2 separate regions of the Homo sapiens genome follow, and region 2 is linked to region 1. Evidence: promoter capture Hi-C in human tissues and cell types (Jung and others, 2019). All regions are on one chromosome and are shown on one strand. The core of a region is centred on a gene start or on the middle of the fragment in contact, and the rest is flanking DNA. Distances in the headings are between cores, read along the strand shown.

Region 1 (4,281 bases), core at 272-2,771:
CATCGAAGTAGCACTATTCCAGTATAGGCATTGAGATATCGAACTACAACAGGAAAGAAAAATCATTTTGGAAAACTTTTGCTCTGTGTGGTGGCTCACGCCTGTAATCCCAGCACTTTGGGAGGCTGAGGCGGGCAGATCACTTTAAGTCAGGAGTTCGAGGCCAGCCTGGCCAACATGATGAAACCCCGTCTCTACTAAAAATACAAAAATTAGCTGGGTGTGGTGGTGCGCACCTGTAATTCCAGCCACTCAGGAGGCTGAGGCATGAGAATCGCCTGAACCCAGGAGGCAGAGGCAGCAATGACCCCCGATCTCGCTGCTGCACTCCAGCAGCCTGGGCAACAGCCAGACTGTCTCGAAAAAAGGAAAACTTTGGAGTAACAGAGCCTACTATGTGCCAAAAGTATGTTGTAGGCAAGTGGCACGTAGATCTATCAGCGAGTAAAAGAGAAAAGCCAAAACACCCACTGTGTTGCACACCACTCAGAACTGGTGAATGAATTTAGAATTGAAAATGCTTTCTAATTCACTAGTTAATTCAATAAATAGGAGCAGGTAGGAGGCGATCCGTTTTAATTTAGGAAAAACCCCCACAAAACCCTTGCCTGAAAAACAGGCTGTTTTACTGCATTTGGGCTCCGTAATTATTGTAGCAGTCAGCTCTCAGTCTCACCTGACTTAGGAGAGTTAAGTCTATCTGCATTTAACTCTCCAGAAGTCAATCTCAAACAAGGTTAAAGTGGGAACTAATTTAAGTGGTGTGAAAGAAGGGCCCCTCTGTCCTAGCTCATCCTGTATTTACATATATTGACAATCATGTGTTCTGTACTTTACCAACTATTTAAGGGCTTTCCCGGAGTACTTTTGACAATTTTTTTCCATATGATGTTAATGTAATCGGTCATATAATAGCTCTTACTAGGAAGTATACACAGCTTCCCTCATTTAATTCTCTACCCTATCAAATTCAATCACAACCAATTACAGAAATTACCTGTCAAGCAGGTAAAAAGAGGCTTCTAGCTCAAAGCCCCACTGCCTTCGGGCCCCTCCTTTTAGCGCTCTGCTAATTTCGGACTCTCGCTTGGGGTCCCAGGCGCTTAAAGAGATACCTTACAAAAAACGGTGCACGGGCTTGGCCACTCGTGCCCCTTCTTTCTTCCTCCGGCGCCTGCCCCCTCCACATCCCGCCATCCTCCCGGGTTCCCCTCTTCCCCCAGCGCCCTTGCACCCGCGAAGCCGATGGAGCAGGCGGCTGCGCCGAAAGTTCCGTGCACCCTGGCGATCGTGTCCCGTACGAGGCTGCTCAGAACTCGGTCATCGAGGCTTAGGCGGCAGCGGGGGTCGTCAGACACCAGTTCGCAGAGCAGGTACCTGCGGCAGGCGAGAGGAAGGTGGACACTAGCGGGGCCGCGAGGACCCAGCAAGGCACTGGGAGGGTCTGGAAGGGAATGCTTACCTGTGCTTGAACCGCACCATGGCTGCCTCCGCGCTCTCCGGTCCGGCGTGCAAACCGGATGTGAATTCTGTCCGCTGCCAATGGGAAGCTTGCTTCCGCAGCCTTTCAGCCATTCAGAGAAGGAGACAGGATATTAGGGCGGAGCTAGAAAGTTGAGAGGCCGAAGTCTGTCAGCTCTCTCAAGCCCCGCCCAACTGCGTTTGTAAGCGCGCATGCGTCCTGCGGAGGGTCACTGACTAGTTTGAGGGCTGAACCCCGGGATGGAGCGCCTTGCAGCTGTAATGGATGGTTCTGTTGCACACTGAAGTTTACAATAGTGTGTAGGATGTAGCCGCTACCCTTGGGGCCCTGGGAACCTTGCACCACAGTTATGTATGCGAGTATATTCTCTCCCCAAGGTGAACGGTGGAGCTTTTGAGGGCAAGACCCTGCACCTCACAGCCCAGGCATTGACAAACGGGAAATCGGACTTTTATTTTCAGGTTTGAGCTCAGTTTAATTCTTCCATACAGCTAAATATGCTATTGCTGTTTGGGCCTTTCAGCAATCTTAGGGAGGCGAGTGTGCCGTCTCGTTTTTTGCTCGCAGAAACAATACGTGGTCATTGTATTTTCCATTTCCGTTTACCTTTTTTTTTTGACAGAAAAGCACAAAGAAGCAAATAAATTATAATCCCAGCACTGAGAGAGAATAACTGTTGTCGTGTAGTGTGTTTTCTTCTGTCATTTTCTCCCTGCGCCAGTGGTTCTCAAAGTGCCGTCTGGGGACCACTGAGATTTCCTAAATTCACTCGATTTGGGAGTCCCCGAAGTCAAAATTACTTTCATAATAATGCTAAGATGTTACTTGTCTTTTTCATTCTCTCTGAGTGAACAGTCAAGTTTTCCAGAGGCTGCTTGACGTGATGACGTCACTGCTCTAGGAATTGTGTATTGTTTTTTAAACGTTTCTCAACTTTAATGTCCATAGTAAATATAACCCACAAAACTAAAAGCTCTTGGGCACCCTCAGTAACGTGTGTAAAGGGGTCCTGAGACAGAGAAAACAGCTTGAGAACTATGCCCTCTGTTAAATTATGTTTTTTCTTTTATTTTTAAGTATTTTAAAAAAAATGTCTTATGGGGTATTACATAAAGTACATATTCTTAAGTGTATTCATCTCAATGAATTTTTACATATGGATAGACTTCTATAACCACCTCCAAGATTAAAATAAAGAGCATTTCCAGTATCCCAGAAGGTTCCCTGAGCCCTCTTCCAGTCAAATTGCTTACTGCTATCAGCCACTATTACCACTTCTACCCTGCTAGATTAATTTTGCCTGTTCTTAAACTTTATATAAATGCAGCCAGGAGGCTGGCTGCAACCTCTGCCTCCTGAGTTCAAGCGATTCTCCTGCCTCAGCCTCCCGAGTAGCTGGGATTACAGGCACCTGCCACCACGACCAGCTAATTTTTGTATTTATTTATTTAGTTTTTTGAGACGGAGTCTCACTCTGTTGCCCAAGCTGGAGCACGATCTCAGCTCACTGCAACCTCTGCCTCCTGGATTCAGGCGATTCTCCTGCCTCAGCCTCCCAAGTAGCTGGGACTACAGGTGTGTGCCACCACAACTGGCTAATTTTTGTATTTTTAGTAGGGACAGGGTTTCCCCATGTTGGCCAGGCTGGTCTTGAACTCCTGACCTCAGGTGATCCACCCACCTCGGCCTCCCAAAGTGCTGGGATTACAGGCGTGAGCTACCACGCCTGGCCATTTGGCTATATTTTCATGTCAGCTCTTCAGCGACAATACTGTTTTTTAGCTGTGCAGTATTGCATTGTTTGGACGTACCATTGTGAAGTTGGTCAGTATCCCTTTGGTAGACGTTTACATTATTTCTAGATTTTCTTGTTATACCCAATACTTTGATGCATGGCTTTGTAGCTTAGTCTTTATGCCCATCCCTGATTATTTGTAGAAGTGTCTTGGCCTTGGCTGGTCCTGTGAGGTCCGTAATGGGGGCAGCTTTCACAACCTATTTTTGCAAGATCTGGAATGAGTTCTGAATTTTCCCATCTCCCACTCTTCTTGGCCACCTTAAAGGAGGGATGTGGGGGAAGGTAGGGAAGAAAAGAATAGGAAGAGGGAACGCCGTGGCCCTGCCAAGGGACCAGTGACAGTGACGGCACTCCCCACCCAAGAACAACTTTTCACCAGAAAGTGTCTGCGACATCCTCCTTTGGCCAACAGGGGGCGCCAGAGGTCCGCAGTGCGCGGAGAGAGCAAGACACCCCCAACTCCTGAGCGCTCCACCCCTCATAGAAATTTCACTCCTCCCAGCCTTCATTTCAACAGCAATGCTTCGCCCATTTTATAGATGCAGTTGGGGCTCAGACCAAAGCCTCGTATCCAGTTAGGAGCAGGATCAGAATTCGAACCCAAAGCCAGCTGACTCCTTGTTCTGGTCAACACGGTTGGTGCTCTCCCGTGCAGGATTTCACTCGTCCATTTAGTGTAATAAGATGGAGAGACGACAGATGGAGGTTCGATTCGCTACTCCGTCATTTACTGGCCCGGCCAGGTGCTGTCAGGAGGGTTAATTCATGTCTCAGATCTTAGTTTCCTCATCTGTGCAATGGGATAACAATGGTTCCTCCCTCGTGGGTGGATATGAAGTTTAAGCGGGGTCATGTGGACAAAATGCCTGGCACAGCGAGTGCATAGTAAGCCCTTTTTTTGTTTTTGTTTTTTTTGTTTTGTTTGTTTTTTGAGACTGATTTTTAAGACTGTCTTAAAAACAAGAAAAGAAAAAAGAAAATATAGCCAAACAACAGGAAT
Region 2 (4,076 bases), core at 1,384-3,883, 720 kb after region 1:
GTGTGTGCCACCACGCCCAGCTAATTTTTGTATTTTTAGTAGAGATGGGGTTTCACCATGTTGGCCAGGCTGGTCTCGAACTCCTGACCTCAGGTGATCCTCCTGCCTCGGCCTCCCAAAGTGCTGGGATTACAAGCGTGAGCCACCACGCCCAGCCAGGGGAGGGTGATTCTTTATGTCGTGGCCCTGGCCTGCCTACAGGACACTTTAGTAGGCATCCCTGACTCCCGCCCACTAAAAGCCAGGAGTGCTTAGCATCATTTTGACAACCAAAAGTCGCCCCCACACTTTCCCAAATCCCTGCCAGGAGGGTGGGACCACCCCCGGATGAGAACTAGTGCATTGTTATTAGTGACTATATTTAGCTACCAGCCCACTAGCCATATCTAAGGATGGGCAGTACTACAGACCCTGCATAGAGCTGCATCGGCAAACACTGATGTAGTGAATAAACAAAACAAAACAAACTCCTGGGCTCCTCAAGAAGCTCAGGGCAGCCTTGCCAGGGTCTCTGCTCTTGAACAGGTGCACAAAGGTTCTAAGGCCTGACATGCCTGCACTGGCTGTGTGACCCTGAGCAAGTTACTTAACTTCTCTGAGCCCTTCTATAAAATGGGGCTAAATCCTAGCAACACTGCAGGATTTCTGTAAACCTCAGTCTCCTAATCTCTACTATGGGGTTAAAATTCCCTACGTTGTAGGATTTGGTAGGCATTAAATGAGATAATGCATGTAACACATAGCACAGAATCTGGCAGGCAGCAAGAACTCAATAGATGTTAGTTTTTAATACTGTTATTATTATTATTGTCCAGGGCCAGGTGGCAGCTCATGCCTGTAATCCTAGCACTTGGGAGACTGACGTAGGCGGATCACTTGAGGTAAGGAGTTCAAGACCAGCCTGACCAACATGGTGAAACCCCTTCTCTACTAAAAATACAGAAATTAGCCAGGCATGGTGGTGGGCGCCTGTAATCCCAGCTACTGGAGAGGCTGAGGCATGAGAATCGCTTGAACCCGGGAGGCGGAGGTTGCAGTGAGCCAAGATTGTGCCACTGCACTCCACCCTGGGCAACAGAGACTCCGTCTCAAAATAAATAAATAAGTATTCTTATTATTATCCAAGTTAGGGGCTCATCAAATGATGGCTATTACTCTTCATTACAAAAATATGTTTTGCGTCCTCATCACCAATGCCTGCTTCCTCCATAGGAAGGGTGTGTGTCACCAATGCCTGCTTCCTCCATAGGAAGGGTGTATGAGCAGCAGTCTGGAAGGGGTATGTGGGGCTTGCCCTAAAGCTGCATTTGCATGGCATGCACACTATTTATTCTGAAACTGCATGTTTTTGTGGGGTGATTAGGGAAGAGGGTGGCTAACTCCCCCAAAGCCCTCCCCTTGTTGCAGCCCCCGCCTCCTCCAAGGAACAAAGGAGCTTATGGGGACATAAAGCCATCCTCTTCTCTCTCCTCTGGGGGCAGAGCTAGGGGAGGGGGAGTGGTAAATGGCAGCACAGCTCTAGGGCACCTGAAGTTTCTATCCCCTGCGTGGAGACTCCAAACACCAGGCTGGGGAAGGTAAAAGTAGCCTGTAGGGAGATGGACGCTGCAGGTCCCATCCGGAGGCCAGGTATCCCTCTCTTGCTGATAGCACTGAGACGCCCTCCCCAAAGCTCAGCCTTCTCGGGGAGATCGGAGGGGCTGAGCTGCATCCTGTCCAGCACTAAGTGAGAGTGGCCAGGAGGGCAGGCTGGCAGAGCTGTGAAAGCACCCACTTCCCCAGCTAGGCAGTGCAGGGGCTGGGGGAAAGCCAGGAAAAGCTCAAGGCTGGGTCGGGTGGCACCCCAGGCACAGAGCCCCAATGCTGAGAGGGGCTGGGTCCAGTGTCCCTGAGAGTCAGGCGGACGCCTCTCCGCATTCACAGCATACTGCAACCCCGAGGTGAATTTAGGTCAGAAGGACCAAGCCTGTGAGGCTCCGGCTGAGAGAAGAGGTGCGGTGGGGGTGGTCAAAGGGCAGACCGAAGACAGCCAAAGGTCCCCTAGGTCCCCACAACTGCTGGCCTAGGGTCCTGCCACCTGGTGTCCAAGCCACCAGGGCCTGGGTTTGCCCCGAGACAGGCAGGCTGCGGGGTGGGGGTGCTCCAAGTCCGCTGGTCCTCTCTTCCCCGGAACGCTCCAGATTTCCCCACCTGTCAAACGCGAGGGGCTGGGCCTAGGCCGCCTCCACGAACCCTGACGGACCCGGCCCCCGGTGACCCCGGTTCCAAACTCCAGGACCGCCCCTGCCACCCGGACAGGGCGCGGCCCAGCCGAGGAGGCCATCCCGAGGCCCAGGGCGCCCAGAGGACGCGGGGGAAGGGCTGTCGGGGACCGTGTCCCTCCACGTGGCGGGGCGTGGGGAGGCGCACGTGGGGTCCCTCCGTGTTGGGAGCCCCAGGCCAGCCTCCGGGCTTTGTGTGCCATGCCGGCGGCGGTCCCCCGCCTCGAGAGGGAAACGGAGCGGGCGCCCGGGGCCGCGGCGGCTGCGTCCCTTGCCCCGGGCCCGGCTACCGCCAGCTCACCTGGGCTCCGCGCCGCCGCCGCCTCCCGCGCTCTGCGCCCCCAGCTCGGCTCGGCTCGGCTCAGCTTGCTCTGCGCGGCCGCGCGCTCCTCTCCTCCGCCCGGGCGGCGGGCGCGCGGGGGGCGGGGGCGGGAGGAGCCGCCCGGCTCGGCTTGGGCGCGTCGCCGCCCCGGGCAGCGCGGGGATTGGCCACGGCGGCGGGAAACCCGAAAGCGGAACCGCCCGCGCCCGCCGCGCACCGCCCCCTGCGCGCCCCCGCCGGCTCGGCCCTGCGCCGGGGAGGGGTGGGGAGGCGGGAGCCTGCAAAGACGAAAGTAGCGAAGAGGCGAAGGGCAAGGAGCAGAAAGGGAGGAGGCGAAGAACGGGGGAAGAGAGGCCCGGCCGGGAGGATCGGAGGCGGCTGGGAGGAGAGCCTGGAGGGGCGCGGAGCGCAGGAGGTGGCGCCGCAACTTTGTACCCGCTCGCCCGCGGCGCGCACCTGCCCAGGTTCTTCCCGCGGCGCCCTCGGGCGGGCCGCGCCGGCAGCGCTTGCTTTGTTTAGCCAAATGCCGGGGCTGCAGGGCGCCTCCGGGCTGACCCTGGGAAAGTTCCCCCAAGCCGGCAAGAACACCCGGGGCCCCTCCTGTGGCGACCCGGCTGCTGCCCCTGCGCTAGGCGCCGGGCGGTGGATGCGGCCTGGACTTTGGGCCACCACCGACTCGGGGGAGCCCCCTTCCGCAGCTGCCTGCCGACTGACCACTTGCTCAGGGCCGGCCCTAAAGGCTGGGGGAAGGCGTTCCTCTCCCATCCCCAGCCCACCTGGATGCACCATTGAAGTTCATTCTGGCTTTTCCAGATGGCTACTTAGATGCTTTTTGTGAAATACAGCATATTCTTCCCATTCTCCCCTTTTTGGCACTTACTTTGCTGGAGCCTTAAGTGTGCGTTGGATCCCCCAGCTGGATAACAGCACTGTGCGGGGAAGAGGAGAAACGAAGACCTGGAGGGCTCCCTGAACCGTCCTACGGGGTCGAGCGACCCAGGGGATGTCTCACTGACCCTGCCAAACAGCCAAAAGGGAATCGAGTTGACAGGAGAGTCAACCTCCAAGTTAATAAAAGGTTCAAAGCCCTCTAGTTAACTGGGTGGATTTCCAGCCCGTTCCGATGTGCTTCTCTTGTATTTCTAGGCCGTAGGGACACTCACATGCAACGAGCCAATGAGAGCTCCACCCCGACTCCCTTTTTTTTTTTTTTTTTTTTCTTTTCTGAAACGGAGTCTCGCTCTGTCGCCCACGCTGGAGTGCAGTGACGCGATCTCGGATCACTGCAACCTCTGCCTCCCAGGTTCAAGCAGTTCTCTGCCTCAGTCTCCCGAGTAGCTGGGATTACAGGCGCCGGCCACCATACTTGGCTAATTTTTGTATTTTTCGTAGAGATGGGGTTTCACCATGTTGTCCAGGCTAATCTTGAATTCCTGACCTCGTGATCCACCCGCCTTGGCCTCCGAAAGTGCTGGGATTACAGGTGTGAGTCA

The links. The method cuts DNA at HindIII sites, captures the fragments that hold promoters and counts their contacts. A contact is called where the count stands out against the background at its distance.
Region 2: the fragment with the promoter of CAMKK2 here is called in contact with the fragment with the promoter of POP5 in region 1 in 1 of the 25 tissues and cell types used here (spleen).

Annotation. Positions count from the first base shown.
Region 1 is chr12:120,579,881-120,584,161 of GRCh38, forward strand. It overlaps POP5 (POP5 ribonuclease P/MRP subunit), which reads right to left and starts at 1,522. Exons shown (of 5, transcript NM_015918.4): 1 at 1,463-1,522; 2 at 1,235-1,377; 3 at 1-43. The coding sequence starts at 1,482. The HindIII fragment of the contact is 9,700 bases long and covers 1-4,281 here.
Region 2 is chr12:121,294,076-121,298,151 of GRCh38, forward strand. It overlaps CAMKK2 (calcium/calmodulin dependent protein kinase kinase 2), which reads right to left and starts at 2,634. Exons shown (of 17, transcript NM_001270485.2): 1 at 2,563-2,634. RefSeq lists a silencer at 2,170-3,319. The HindIII fragment of the contact is 15,221 bases long and covers 1-4,076 here.